5 separate regions of the Homo sapiens genome follow, and regions 2, 3, 4 and 5 are each linked to region 1. Evidence: promoter capture Hi-C in human tissues and cell types (Jung and others, 2019). All regions are on one chromosome and are shown on one strand. The core of a region is centred on a gene start or on the middle of the fragment in contact, and the rest is flanking DNA. Distances in the headings are between cores, read along the strand shown. Region 1 holds the start of EVX1 (even-skipped homeobox 1). Region 2 has its middle 130 kb from the start of TSL. Region 3 has its middle 150 kb from the start of TSL. Region 4 has its middle 170 kb from the start of TSL. Region 5 has its middle 180 kb from the start of EVX1-AS.

Region 1 (2,928 bases), core at 302-2,801:
CTGGGCTGCCCTTTGCAGCTGGCTGCCTAGGGCTAGAAGCTCTTCGGGAGGAGGCGGAGAAAGGGGGGTTGAGCATAGAAGGTGCCCACCTCCTGCTCTCAGCAATGTGGGGATAGACTCAGCCCACCCACCTGGCCCCAGCACACTTGCTTGGAGCTCAAAAAGGGTCAGTTTGAAGGAGTTTTATACCAGCTTCTTCCCTGGGAGAGGAGCCAAGAGAGGCCTATGGCAGCTTCCAGATATTAAGTTCCACAACCCCTGCCCCCACCTCCAGCCCTTCATCAGAGTCCCTACTTACTTGCTGTTTTAGGGCATTTTCAGCGACTTCACTCTCTTCTACCTCAAACGCCATCCACTTTTGGAGACAGGTACCACTGCCCCTAGGCAGGGACTTGGGAGAGGACCTTATGAGTCAAACCTCTATGAACCCCAACCTTTTTGTACTCGGGGAGGCTGAACCCCTGCCCAAAATAGCGCGGTGAAAGCTACTGCCTTCTCCCAAGTAGGGGCCTCCAGTACTGCCACAGCAGGGGCCGCATTCCTGGCGCCTCTTCATTCGAAAAACCTCTTTCCAGGAGACTTCGCTGATTCTGAACGAATACTTTAAAATATGGGCAAGGGAAAAAAAAAGACAACTCTTAGAAACTCTCCCCACCCAACATACCTGGAGTGCAGGCGAGGTCCAGGCAAACGGGAAAGCGACTTCTTGTACGAATAGCCATCTCAAGATGAAGCCAGGCTGTGGAAAACTTAAGGCCATCTAGATGGGAAGGAGGTATTTAAAAGAAATCAGCACACACTCTTACAGAAGCCAAGGCGGGTCTTTAAATTAAAAAATAATAATAAGGTATTTATTTCTTGCCCCTTAGGGAAGAAAAATAGCAAAGTTTGGTTCGCAGGAGTAAGGAGACAGAGGTGGGTAGGGAGAGGGAGGAGAAAAGAGGAAAAGATGGCCCAGCCTCAAGCTCTCCAGTCAACTTGGGGCGGGGGAATACATTTTTCCGTAGCTTGTAAAAAGACTTTTCAGCCAGTTTGAGGTTAGCTGCCAGGGGCAGACAGTTGTAATAATGCCGACAGAATTGAGGCTTGTAAGCCGGGCTTCACACTTCTAAAATGCAGTTATGGATTCTTTCATCGGTGTTAGATCAAGGCACCAAGTTAAGAAAACAAAAGTCAAAACAACAATAAAAGAAAAAATCAAAAGCTTATTTAATTACCGAGTCCCGCTGCCCCTGCGGAACTCGCCGCGCGCGTTAAGCTCTCTTTTCTTTCTGCGGAATTCCATTTGCATCCCCTCTGCCTGGGTGTCTCCCTCTCTCAGTGTGTGTGTCTCTCTGTCTGTTTTCACACTCTCCTCCCCAATCGAGCGAGGCCCACACCTGGCGCATCACTGCCGAGCCATTAGCTGCGGGTTTCCTTTCATCTTCGCTGTGGCAGACGTTTCTATTTATCCACTTGCGCTCGCCGAGTGGCGTCACCAGCGGTACTGTAATGACGATTGCAGCAGGAGGATGACAGCTTAGAAAGAAGAGGGCAATGGGGCTTCCTCCCAGAGGCGGTGCGGCACAGAGGAGCGCTCGCTTCACAAGGTGACCCTAGCTCCCACCGCCACCGCCGCGGTCGCGGTCCAGACCGCGCTCCAGCAGCTCCGCGCCCTCCCAGGCACCCGGCCTTTCTTTCTCCCTCTTGCAACCAAGATCCGTCCGGCCGCTGGAGACCCAGGGAGCCGGGGTTAGGAACTCACTTGGGGCTTTCCCCTCCCCCACCGGAGAGCCCCGGGATGGAGAGCCGAAAGGACATGGTTGTGTTTCTGGATGGGGGTCAGCTTGGCACTCTGGTTGGCAAGAGAGTCTCAAATTTGTCCGAAGCCGTGGGCAGCCCGCTGCCGGAGCCGCCCGAGAAAATGGTGCCCCGTGGTTGCCTGAGCCCTCGGGCCGTCCCTCCGGCCACCCGGGAGCGCGGCGGGGGAGGCCCGGAGGAGGAGCCGGTAGATGGACTCGCAGGCAGCGCGGCGGGGCCGGGCGCCGAGCCCCAGGTAGCTGGGGCGGCCATGCTCGGCCCAGGACCCCCGGCCCCCTCAGTCGACAGCCTCTCCGGACAGGGGCAACCCAGTAGCTCGGACACCGAGTCGGATTTCTATGAAGAAATCGAGGTGAGCTGCACCCCGGACTGCGCCACCGGGAACGCCGAGTACCAGCACAGCAAAGGTAGCCACCGTGCCCCTCCGCTCCCCGGGCCTCCCACTGCGCCCACCCTTCACTTCGGCGCAGGCCAGGAGGAAGACACTCCCTTCCCCTAGGGCAGGATGGCTGGGGGGACCCACCTGAGCAACTCTCTCTGCTATCTGCGTTCTGGCGGGGGTCTCCTACTGTGTTCTGGCATTGGCGGGACTGAGGGTGACAGCAGTGCCTTGAGTGCGGGGTGCTGAGGGGGCGGATGCAAGTCCTGGACTTGGGGGATTCGAAGCTCACCCCAAGCACCCAGTGTTTCAACTGCTCGGGGAATGCTTCAATTGCTCGGGGAAGACACTTTCCCCAGGCGAGGGCAAGATCAAACGCCGATCCGGGCAGTTTGTGGCTGGCAGGGTGTAAGAGGCATGGAGGCGCGGAAGCCAGGAGTCCATAAAGGACCGTAAAATTGCGGCCCACTTGGGCAGCCCGGGTGCTGCAGCCCTCCGACCAGTTTGCACGTCGGTCAGAGGTCCAAATTACCTTGTCACTTCCCGGGCTTCGCGGCGCCAGGTCGGAAATGGTCCCAATGGTCTAATTGCCTTTGGTCTCCGGTTGCATTTGAAAAGGCAGAGATCGGGTCCTCCCCCCTTCCCCTTTCCTTCCTAGTCCCACTTCTCCACCCAAAGGAAAAGGAGCTGCAGGGGGCTGGAGCCCCACCCTTCTCAGAGGTAGGCCCAAAGGGGGGCTGGTTTAACTG
Region 2 (2,928 bases), core at 164-2,663, 240 kb after region 1:
TAAAGATACAAAAAATTAGGCAGGCGTGGTGGTGCGCGCCTGTAATCCCAGCTACTCAGGAGGCTGAGACAAGAGAATTGCTTGAACTCTGATGGTGGAGGTTGCAGTGAGCCGAGATTGTGCCATTGCACTCCAGCCTAGGCGACAGGATGATACTCCATCTTAAAAAAAAAAAAGAAAGAAAGAAAGAAAAAGAAAAAAAGAAAATGTCTTTTGCAGAGTTGAAATTTTTAATTTAATTTTATTATTTTTTTGAGACAGAGTCTCTCTCTGTTGCCCAGGCTAGAGTGCAGTGGCACCATCTCGGCTCACTGCAGCCTCTGCCTCCCAGGTTCAAGCGATTCAAGTGCCTCAGTCTCCCGAGTGGCAAGGATTACAGGTGTGTACCACCATGCCAGCTAATTTTTGTATTTTTAGTAGAGACGGGGTTTTGCCATGTTAGCCAGGCTGGTCTCAAACTCCTGACATCAGGTGATCCACCTGCCTCAGTGTCCCAAAGTGCTGGGATTACAGGCACGAGCCACCACTCCCAGCCTAATTTTTTAATTTTAATGAAGTGCATTAAAATTTTTTTGCATTGATTGTGCCTTTGGTATTGTATCTAAAAAGTCATTGTCATATCAAAGGTCATCTAGGTCTTGTCCTCTGTTACCTTCTAGGAGTTTTATAGTTTTGCATTTTATAATACTAGGATTTTTAACTCACAGATATGTGTGTTGCATCCAAACAAGTATGCTTGAGGATGTTCTCTGCGGTTTGTTTATAATTTCAAAAAATTAGGAATAATACAATTGTCCATCAGTAGGGGACTGGTTAAATTATGGCACAATCTATACATGGTGATGTTGAACAAACTTCAAGATATACTGTTGAATGGAAAAAAATCAATATACAAAGCAATGTTAACAATGTGCCACCTCTTGTACTTTGAAAAGGATACCGTGTATACACACACACACAAGCAAACAAACATACAGACACACATACATACATGCTGGTATATATGTAGACTATCTCTGGAACGACACAGAAAAAACTAAAAACAATGGTTGCTCCATGTGCAGGGGAAACAAAGGCCTGGGGAGTGGGGCAGGGATGGGAGGAGAGGCACCTCATCCTCATTGTATACTCTTTTGGACATTTTTAGCTTTGACATTGTGCATGTATTATTTAGTAAAATTAATGAAATAAAAATCCAAATACAATAAATGCACAGCAATGGACACCTGTTCTATACAATTCAAGGACACATTTTAGGGTTGACGAAATAATGCTAATACATTATTTAGAATTTAATATTTAGGTATATTTTTAATGATGGTAAAGCTGAGATTTCTGGGGATGTGGAGGAAACGGAGAGGGATAATCCACATACAGGTGGGCTTGCAGCACAGACATTACCTTGGGCTTTCCTCTGCTGGGAGATGCAGCTCCATGGGGAAGTCTCTGGGGGCGAGGAGGGGTCTCTTGCTGGGTGTCTGCCAACCATCCACATCAAAGGTCATTCTCACTCCTGCCATCTGGCAAAAAGGGTGTGAATTTTAGGAGGCAAATTATTAGACTATGGCATTCTCCATTTCTTCTTTACCTGGATGTCATTTACTAGCATATTTTAGCAAAGTAGGATGGCGTTAAGGGTGCAGAGGTGAGGAAGCCTGGGAAATGCTTGGGAAGCGAAGGCCTTGACTGGACAGCAGCAGAGGTCTTTGAGGGATCCTCAGAAAGCATGCCTTGCCCTTCTCCAGTTCTAAACAGAAAGGCTGCACAGCAGGGAGCTCCGTGTGCCCCACCATCTGATTGCCACCCAGTGCCATTGAAGCTTAGCCTGTGCCCCAGGAGCCAAGCAGAGATGGCCAGCCTCCAGCCTTCCGGGAGCCTCCATGGCCTCCAAGACCACACTTCATCTTCATTGGTGGCCCATCTGCAAATGGGCCAGGGATCTTAGTGACCCCCTTGAAGCCATATCCCTGGACCCCCTCCCACATCTACCTGCTCTGATGAACTGAGTCTGGCCTCCTTGGCACAGTGGCAGTTCCCTTGTTGGAGGCTGGCCACCTAGAGGACAGTGATTAGACCCTGAACCAGGCCAAGTTAAAGCACAGGTCTCTAAGTCCTATTGTGTAGAGGGTGGTGGAGTGCAGGGTTCCCCTGACTGAAACTGTGGATAAATAAAGAAATTCCATCTCATTGCCTATCAGTTTTTCCTGGTCTTCCCCCACAAGCAAAAATTACCAGAAAAGTACACACAGGTGAGCCAGCGAAACCAGGGAAATAAAGACCTGGGCCAGAGCAGCAGGGCACTGAATCTAAACAGGTGCTAGGATCCAGCCCCATGGATTTCTTCGGGGCCTGGTTTCATCTGGTGGACACTCACCTGGCTCGAATCCTACAGATGACTGTACGGGCTGTCCTGTCTGAATCTCACTTCATACTTGGATTCAGAGATGGCTTGTCTGGAAGGAACACTCTGCCCCACATGAAGACTTTTTCTAAAGAAAGATTTTTGTCTTTTAATGAGAAGCATCTTATCATTTTTACTTGACCCCTGGACTGCAGTGGAAGCCACGTCCCAGCTTGCACGTCCTCCCACTCTGGAGTGCAAACGAGCTCCCACTTGCACCACGCGTTCCCTGTGTGCTGGGCCCCGCTGGGCGGTCAAGGGCATTGTCTCACTTACTCCTCACAGCATCCTCTGAGGTGTGCACTATTTCTAGCCCTATTTTACAGAGAGGAGACGGGTTTGGAAAGGAAAAGCAAGTTACCCAAAGTCAACTGGGCAGCCTGACTCCATCCCTCCACCTCTCATTGCTCTTTTAGTAGTTTAAACAACACATCCAAAAGTTAAAGATCTAAAATCCCATTTCTTGACCCCCTAAAGTCCGATGCTTGATTTCAGTGATGTGGTCCTGTAGCTCAAGCAATGCAGGG
Region 3 (2,928 bases), core at 134-2,633, 220 kb after region 1:
GTGTAGGGAGACTAAATATCTTGTTCTAGATCACATATTTAGTGATGCTAATACAGGATTAAAACCCAGGAGGCCGGTCTGATTCTGAAGCCTATCCTTTCCACCACATCCTGGCGGAGAAGAAGGCAAAAAAAAGTTGCAAAAGGTTGGTGCAAAAGTAATTGTGGTTTTTGCAATTACTTTTTTAAAAAAATGACCAAAACTGTCATTACTTTTACACCTACTTAATAGCTTAGTGTGAGCAGGGTCCTCGGGGGCAACCGGCAATGTCTGTGCTCTGTGGACAGGGTGCTCCTGGCCAGCTGGCATGGAGGGAGTCCATGGGGGATGGTAGGAGACGGTTCTGCAGAGGTAAGGTCTGGCCAGACCATGGAGGGCCTTGGATGTGGGAGGTGCATGTAAAAATGGTGGGGAAGTTGGACTCTGCCACGGGTAACTGGGGGTCATTCAAGTTTTGAGCAAGTAAAGGACTCCTTCATCTCTGCTTCAGAGATTGTCCAGGTGGCCAGGGGGAAGCAAGTAGGAGGGGAGCAAGGTTGCAAGTGGAAGCGGATTGCAGATCCTGAGTGGATGCAGTAAGAGTCCAAGCAGGCAGTGAGGCAGTGCAGGGATAGGGATAGGGATAGGGATAGGGACAGGGACAGGGACAGGGACAGGGACAGGGACAGGGACAGGGACAGGGATAGGGATAGGGATAGGGATGGAAGGACTGGGCTAGGAGAAAAACCAGTGGCCTGCAGTGACCACTAGTTCTTCCCAGACACAGACAAAATTGAGGCAGGAACAGGAAATGAGTGTGGGTGCTAATAGTGCGGGTGCCCCAGATAAAACAGTCCTAAGGGCATCTTCAGCGAACCCAGCCCAGCTGGCACACAGGACGACAGAGAGGTTCTGAGGTCTGCAAAGGTGAGTTCAGTACTCAGCCAAATGCATTCCTGCAGCATTAGATGGCCACAGCCCCCGACATGTGTTTTTAATGGATTCCCAGGCTGCTAACAGTTAACATTGTTAATGACCTGCGGAGAGTTCAGATCCCTGGATAAGGACTACCTGCAAATCTTGGTTATTACTTTTAAAGTATGCAAAGTGAACCTGAGCTGGTTCTTTTCTTCTTCCTTTAAAAAATGTAGATTCTAGAGTCTTAAGGGTGTGGGGTGGTGTGTGTGTGTAGTCATGTCTATATCATCTCTCGCATTGACAGACCACTTTCTCTGCCTGAGTCAGGTCACCTTGCTTAGGCTGAGAAACTTCATGTCAAGCATGAAGCTTTTCACTCTAAATCAGTTTTTACTTCTAAATTAGTTCCACAAAACAGCATCCATTAATCAATACCCTGTTCAATCATGAAGCCTTTTAAGCTGGAAGAGGTTGAGTGCAAGGGTGTGACGTGGGCTTCCAGATCTGCACCCCTAATCCCTGGAGGCCCTTCATCCTCTGCCCTTTCTTGCCCTTGTAGCCTCATCTCTTCCCTCTCAAGGGCTCCCTGTTTCTCAGCCTTTTACCCAACATGCTTCTTCACACTCTAGGGCCATGGCACGTTTTGTTCTTTCTGCCTGTGCCCTTCAAGTGCAGCACCATGTGCTCCATCCTTTCCTCACCCAGCCCCAGCTCACCTTTAATGCTTGGTGCGGGTGACACTTCTTCCAGGAAGCTCTCCCTCACCTGCTGCTCTGTGTTTTCATCTTCTGTGTTCACACAGTTTTGTCGCAACACTTTCACACTATATTTAAAAAGTATATTTCCCTTGATTATAAAAGTCACTCACACTTGTAGAAAATGTGGGAAATAAAAAAACTTAAAGAAAAAAATGCATATAAATTGACTACTTGGGGGTTATAAGCACTGTTAACATTTTGATGAATTTCTTTCCAGTATTTTTTCCATCTATATATTTGTAAAACTTTCATACTCAGAAAAGAAAAAAAATAAGTGCTGTAAAAAGACAAGGGGAACTTTGACTGAGAAAAAGTTCAGTGCATTTATTGTTTCTAGGTGACTGGCAACTTAAAAAATTGCTTAGTTTAAAAATCAAATTACAAGGGATTTTTTGGCACCAGCATAACAAAAGTGTGTGCTGGAAGATGAGTGCTTACACAAACAGTTGGTGTCCTCTTTTTTTATTTAGCATTTGTCATGCCCTAAGACTTCTTTGAAAATGTGTTTTTACTCCATAACCCTCTGTTTTCTGATTCTCATTATATTGCCCCGTTTGTTTACCTTTTGGTAGCCACTATTGGACTATAAGCTTCTTTCTTTCAGGCAGGGCCTGTGATCTTACTGTTTTTTAATTCAATCCCTAACCCATTCTGATGGAGTGGGAGTAGGCATGTAACAAACAGAACGCATTACCTGAGATTACCAAAAGATTACCTGAGTCTTCCTGAATTGCTTACTTACTCAACCCCTATTTGTTCTCTACGCTGAGGTGTGTCGAGACTGTACCAGCATCCACAGGTCTGGTGGGTGCCACAGGCCTGCACCACCCACATGCCCCTTAAGGGATGAAGGGCCACTCTACAGCTGCAGGGACTGCTGCCAGCAGGAAGCCCTCAGAGATTGCCTTGCCCAATGAGGAGCCGCTTCATCCAAGGTCACCCCCTTTCCCGGGGTGGCCTGCTGCATCCAATGACTGGTCCATGGAGGTATAACGTCCTGGCCCGTGTTCCCCAACTGGGACAACTCTGAAAAGTTCTGCTTCAGAACTCTCCTTAGCATCTACCAAGGTTGCCATTGAGACCACACCACAGCTGGACTCCTCCCACTGCCCGATCCTGCTTCCCTCTCCTCCCTTCCCTTGGGTGTCATCCCAAGAGCACCGCCCCCCCCCCGACAAAGCTCCTGCAAATTCATCTTTGCCTCAGAGCCTGCTTCCTGGGTAGCCCAGCCTGCAACAGTAGGCATCTAAACAATGCCCAGACACACCCCTAA
Region 4 (2,928 bases), core at 289-2,788, 200 kb after region 1:
TTTATTATTATTATAAAGTCAACACATGCTTACAATAAAAACTCAAATAAAAAAGAGTAAAAAGTAATACTTCCTTTCCCTTCAGACCTACTTCCCAGAGGAGATAGGAAAGATGCACAGCTTGCATATTTTTCTAGATATGTTCTATTGAGCCATATTTCTGATCAAAGATGATCTGTCAAGGATCTGGAAGCTGACTTAACAAATAACTTGCTATTTTTTCAAAAAAAAGTACAAGATACTGATTGAGCATAAAAGTCATGGTTCTTAACTGAATCTCAAATCAGAGCGAGTACCTTATCATTTGGTCAGTGTTTTTCATAACTAAGACCCTTACTCACCTAACATAGGCTACCTACCATAGGTAGCCTAGTATGACAACAGGGAAAATGTTGCAGAAGAAACACATGTGTCTGGAGCAGTTAGCAAACACAAAGGTTCATTAGGGATCCTGTGAAACTCAGCAGCATATTTTACCATCATCTACAGAAATTTAGATATCCTAAGATATAACTTGAGACACCGTGGCATGAGATGGTAGATCTGTTAGATTAAGATCCTTTAAGATGGTGGGATTCTGCAGGTGGTCATATAGTTCTAAAACTGATTCACCGTTAAGGTTACTGAGTGTTGGAAACTAGAGCATAAGTGGTACCAAATTCAGGAAGAAGAAGTAACAATTTGTCTGACTTCCTTGACTCTTGCCTTATTTTTTATTTTTATGAGTCCTTTTAAGGGAATCAAAGTTTCCCTTTCTAATAAAATATAAGTAATCTCAAGTTAACAGTAATAATGAGAAAAGTAAATAATGCAGTTTAAAACTTTTAGCATATGTACACATGCAATAAAAAACACCAGAGACATGTCTCTGCCTTTCAATTTCTTTATCTGTAAAATGGAAAGAACTTTCCTCATTGTGCTTGCCTGAACTAACAGATTACTGTGAAAAACTTTTGAAACTGTCAACACCATTTGTATTAGTTATCTATTGCTGTGTAACAAAATTACCATATATGTGGTGACTCAAAACTAGACAATCATTTATTATCCTCTGCAGTTTTTGTGGGTCAAGAATTCAGACAGGCCCAGCAGGGATTTCTTGTCTCTGCTTCTCACTGTTAATGGTTTTGGCTGGAAAACTCAAAGCTTCAGAACTGGAAGCATGTGAAGGCTCTTCACTCACATGTCTGGCAACTGATGCTGACTGTTGACTGAAGGTCTAACTGGGACTGTGGATTAGAACACCCACATGTGGCTTCTCCATGTGGCCTGGGCTTCCCTAAAACATGGTAGCTGGGTTCCAAAGGCAAGTGTCCTGAAAGAGCCAAGTGGGAGCTATATCCTATGAGAGGTCACATAGCATTGCTTCCACCATATTCCATTGGTCAGGGTAGTCACACCAAGATTTGAAGAGAGGAGACAGACTCCCATCTCTTGGTGAAGAAGTGCCAGGCATCTTGCAAAAAGAGCGTATGGGATAGAAGAACCTTATAGATATTGCGATTTCTGGAAAATACAATCTGGTACACTATTCAATGGAGAAAGGGTTATTGTTAGTGGTAATATTAATGCTAGGAAGGTTTTTTAGACATGATTATTAACACTCCTCTTTTGTCAGATCTTGGACTATCTCTATGTGCAAAACAGTGAAATAGGTAAGGCTTGTTTTCAAAGATGTGCCCCTGCCCCTAGCCTTCTACTTCACTCTTATATTTATTCTTCCTCTCTCCCAGGGGTTCATCTTTCCATAACACTTCCCAGATTCCCAAGCTCCAGACATTTCTATTTTTCTACCTCCCATGCAAACTCAACCTTTGCTGTCCCCATCCACCAAGGCCTCAAGAGATCTCACTTTCAACCCCACTTGCTAAAGTAAAAATGGTTTATGAGCCATCTCAGAGACAGAACTAATTTCTACAGCATCAGGGCTTTGTGAAAGCAATGTCATATGCCAACACATATCTTGGGGGACCAGTAAAGCCAGTAAGGTTCTTGCACTGTAAAGGAATTTGCTCCTTGCTTCAGAAGAGCCAAAGCATGTCCTTGATAGACACCAGAATGTTACCTCTTGTTATCTGTGGAATTATGGGTGACTTTTACTTTATCCATTCATATTTTCAATCTTTTATAAGTTTTCCACAAAGAATGTGTATTGATTTTGTCATTTGGAAACAAAGCTATTTTTTAACAGCTTTATTGAGATATAATTCACAGACCATACAATTCGCACACTTAAAGTGTACAATTCAGTGGCTTTTAGTGTATTTACAGAGGCGTGCATCCATCACCACAATCAACTTTAGAAACATTTTTATTACCTCCCAAAGAAACCTCACACCCCTTAGCTGTCCCCCTTAACTCCTCATCCCCCATTTTCTGTCTCTATGGATTTGCCTGTTCTGTACCTTTCATGTAAAAGGAATCATATAATATGTGGTCTTTTGTGACTGGTTTCTTTCACATAGCATAAGGCTTTTCAAGGTTTTATGGATTATAGAATGTATCAGTATTTCTTTCTTTTTATTGCTGAATAGCATCTCATCATATGGGTATATCACATTTCATTTATCCATTCACCAGTTGAGAGATGTGCCAAATCTTTACCCCTGGAAGTGAGTCATAGGAGCCAGAATTTCTCTTCCCCAAAGTGAGTCATAGAACCTAGAACTCCTCTCCCCAAAGCAAGCCATAAAACCTAGGATGATCACTCTCCCTCTTCCCTTCTTCCTTGAAGACTCTCATCCCAGAAGGATCTTGCCCAATCCTCAAGGAAGGAATGCTACACAGAGAGGCCAAGAAGGATTTGAACAGACAGGTCTTGCTGGGTTCCCCCTCTCCATCTATTACTATTAGATCATACCCTTTTAATCTAATCATATTTCTGCATGGCCATCCATTCTTCATTAAACCTAAGCATAAACATACAAA
Region 5 (2,928 bases), core at 223-2,722, 180 kb after region 1:
AGTACCTCCTTGTCATGGACGTGTTGCAAGGATTGCCCATGTTCATGAATGTAAAGCATTTTGAACAGTGCCCAGTGTGAGTTTAATGCTCTGTGTTCACTATGATCATTTCAATCATCCACACATATTTTTGAGTCCCTGTTATGTGCCAGGCGCCTTCCTGATCACCAGGAATAGAAAAGTGAGGATGTCTTTGGAGCTTATATTCCAGTGGAGCAATAGAGTCATAACAAAATGAACAACAATAACGGCCACTAATATTTATTGGGATTATAATATGCATAGCCTTACTTGATCTTTCTAATAATCCTAAGAGGTAAGTAAGAGTATTGTTTCATAGGAGAGGAATCCACAGGCTTCAAGGGGTTCGATAACCTGATCACACAACACAGCTGCTAAGTGGCCCAGCCCAGGGCTGGAATGGAACAACATGGTTCCCAAGTTTTCAGTCTTAACTGTGTCTTTCACTTTTATGGAATTGGGCTATTTTCAACTAACAACCGTGGTTCTAGGAAACAACACAGCCACTTTGTCCCTTTATGTTATTCTTAAAGAATCATTGCCCTGTCTCCCACTTTTATGCCAGTCACTGAGTTTTTGGTAGCCATTCACTGAACATGATCAAATTTAACCACCCAGTGTAAAGGATTTTACCTGCTGGTCAGAGGAACAACTCAGCATTTGGAAGAACATTTAATACTGTACGGCGGCGTTGGCCTTCATGCTGAGAGACAAGCGCACATCTCAAGGCCTACCCTGAACCAATCACTGGAGGATGGTTTAATTGGTTAATCATATAAATTACAATCACTTAATCATTTTAAGCACCATCAGCCAATTAGCTCAGAATTATGGGCTCTGAGGTAACAGTCATGCAAATGTTTGTTCCACTGCAGGCTATTAACAGCCATATTTTCTCTATCAAGATGACAGAGACTGATGGGTGGGGGAAGAAAAGGAAAGAGAGCATTTGTTTAGTTTAAACTTCTTTCCTGTTGGGTTATAATGAAGCATTCAGTGGGGAGGAGCGCCATGTGCAGTGATTTCTGTATCCTACTCAATGTGAGTCTCCGAGTGGATTGGAGGGAGGCCCCTGAGCAAAGAACTGCAAGGAATGGCTTCAAAACTGCTGAATCAAGACTGCGCAGGAGTTTAGCCTACTCTTGCTGCCAGGTGCTGGCTTTGTTGACCACCTGGTGTGCTCAGCCATAATACAGATAAATTGAGGACTGGCTGGGCACGGTGGGTCACACTTGTAATCCCAGGAGTTTGGGAGGCCGAGGCTGGCGGATCACTTGAGCCCAGGAATTTAAGACCAGTCTGGGCAACATGGCAAAACCCCATCTCTACAAAAAAAAAAAAAAAAAAAAACACCCAAAAATTAGCTGGCCACGGTGGCACACACCTGTAGTCCTAGCTACTCAGGAGGTTGAGATGGGAGGGTAGATTGAGCCCAGGAGGTCTAGGCTGCAGTGAGCTGTGATTGCACCACTGTACTCTAGCCTGGGCAATAGAGCCAGACCCTGTCTCAAAAAAAAAAAAAAAAAAAAAAAAAAAAAAAGAAAGAAAAAGAAAAGGAAAGAAACTGAGGACCAAAATGAGGACATGACTTTTGTGGCTGCTTTTTCTCCACCAAGCAACAAAGAGTGTCCACTAATCATGCAGGAGAATAGATCAAGTTCAGACAGAGCGTCCCCATCTACGATAACCATTACTATATACTAACAATGAAGAAAATAAAACAGCTCTGGAAAGCAAGGTGAGTCATCGTCAGCCGACCAGAAGCTGTGAACACCTGAACGTTTGCCAGTGTGGGCGTAGAGGAGCTGTTTGTGCTCATCAGTCCCTGGTTTAGGGCCTGGTACATGGTAGCTTCCCAGTAAACTCTTGTGGATGAATTAATGATTAGTGGCCAAATGTGAACGTAAGAAGCAGGGAGATGGAGGAGCACTCATCTGTTTGATGTGGCTGTGCTCTGCCAGCGTGCCTGTGCAAGTGTGTGTAAGACAGCTGGACCCTGCAGTGGAGTCTTTGCCGGCTTCTGGCTCCGGCAGAGCCTAGTGTAACTGCGCTTTCTGTCGGGTGGTCAGTTGAGTAGACTGGGTCATTTGCTAGCCTGCGATTGTAATATTTGCAAGTGCTGTGATGGTAAGGAACATCAGAACTTCAAAGATTACTTTTGTCAGGAATGTGTAGGAAGCAACATGGTTTTGTGGTCCCCAGTCACTTTGTGACTACGGCATTGTGGTCTTCAGACTTCACCTGTCTTGACTGATTAATTAAAGTTGGGGGTGGGACTGCTCCCAGCCTCTCACCATTTCCCAAGTGCACGCGCACGCGCGCGCGCGCACACACACACACACAGAGGTACATGCAACATATTTGTCATAAAACTTCATGCAGTCATTAAATAATACATACTGGACTTTTATGTGCCAGAGATCATGCAAGGGACCAGGAAAACCGCACAGAACACATAGCACTTGCCATGTGATGGCAAAGTATGGTCAAGTGCAGAGAGGAGAGGAAGACTCCTGAAGGCTGACATAATCAAGGAGAACTTCCCAGAGGAGGTGGGGATTGATCTAGGGAGAAATTAGATAGACAAAGAGATGAAAGTAGGGTACTTCATTGCACTTGTCATATTGACCTAGACTTAAAGCTTCAGGGAGAAAGTTTTCCAAATTAGGAGTTTTAATTTCCTTAAGGAAGTAACTGGCCTTGTTTTATCTTGTTTACACATGTCCCGGAGGTGCCTTGCCCGCAGGCAGCAGGAAAGGGTTCCTGGTAACTCCCTGTCTGACCTGAGCCAGAGGCTTGTCTCCCTCTCTGGCCTTGCTTTTTCTTCCTTAAACAGGGAAAAAATGATATTGACCTACCGTTGTGAGGGAAAACTGATACAAAATATGACAACACACTTCAGAGAGT

The links. Contacts are between HindIII fragments. The study calls those that stand out against the background at their distance.
Region 2: a fragment that was not itself captured here is called in contact with the fragment with the promoter of EVX1 in region 1 in 1 of the 25 tissues and cell types used here (spleen).
Region 3: a fragment that was not itself captured here is called in contact with the fragment with the promoter of EVX1 in region 1 in 3 of the 25 tissues and cell types used here (IMR-90 fibroblasts, mesendoderm cells and thymus).
Region 4: a fragment that was not itself captured here is called in contact with the fragment with the promoter of EVX1 in region 1 in 2 of the 25 tissues and cell types used here (IMR-90 fibroblasts and mesendoderm cells).
Region 5: a fragment that was not itself captured here is called in contact with the fragment with the promoter of EVX1 in region 1 in 2 of the 25 tissues and cell types used here (heart left ventricle and mesendoderm cells).

The regions. Positions count from the first base shown.
Region 1 is chr7:27,241,251-27,244,178 of GRCh38, forward strand. It overlaps EVX1 (even-skipped homeobox 1), which reads left to right and starts at 1,552. Exons shown (of 3, transcript NM_001989.5): 1 at 1,552-2,207. The coding sequence starts at 1,781. EVX1-AS (EVX1 antisense RNA) reads right to left here. Exons shown (of 4, transcript NR_120507.1): 2 at 665-760; 3 at 299-391; 4 at 179-200. RefSeq lists an enhancer at 1,170-2,047. The HindIII fragment of the contact is 9,702 bases long and covers 130-2,928 here.
Region 2 is chr7:27,485,081-27,488,008 of GRCh38, forward strand. No RefSeq gene overlaps it. Among named protein-coding and RNA genes, the nearest start is that of TSL, 130 kb to the right of the region's middle. The HindIII fragment of the contact is 3,114 bases long and covers 1-2,928 here.
Region 3 is chr7:27,465,985-27,468,912 of GRCh38, forward strand. No RefSeq gene overlaps it. Among named protein-coding and RNA genes, the nearest start is that of TSL, 150 kb to the right of the region's middle. The HindIII fragment of the contact is 3,495 bases long and covers 1-2,928 here.
Region 4 is chr7:27,439,981-27,442,908 of GRCh38, forward strand. No RefSeq gene overlaps it. Among named protein-coding and RNA genes, the nearest start is that of TSL, 170 kb to the right of the region's middle. The HindIII fragment of the contact is 5,895 bases long and covers 1-2,928 here.
Region 5 is chr7:27,421,684-27,424,611 of GRCh38, forward strand. No RefSeq gene overlaps it. Among named protein-coding and RNA genes, the nearest start is that of EVX1-AS, 180 kb to the left of the region's middle. The HindIII fragment of the contact is 3,767 bases long and covers 1-2,928 here.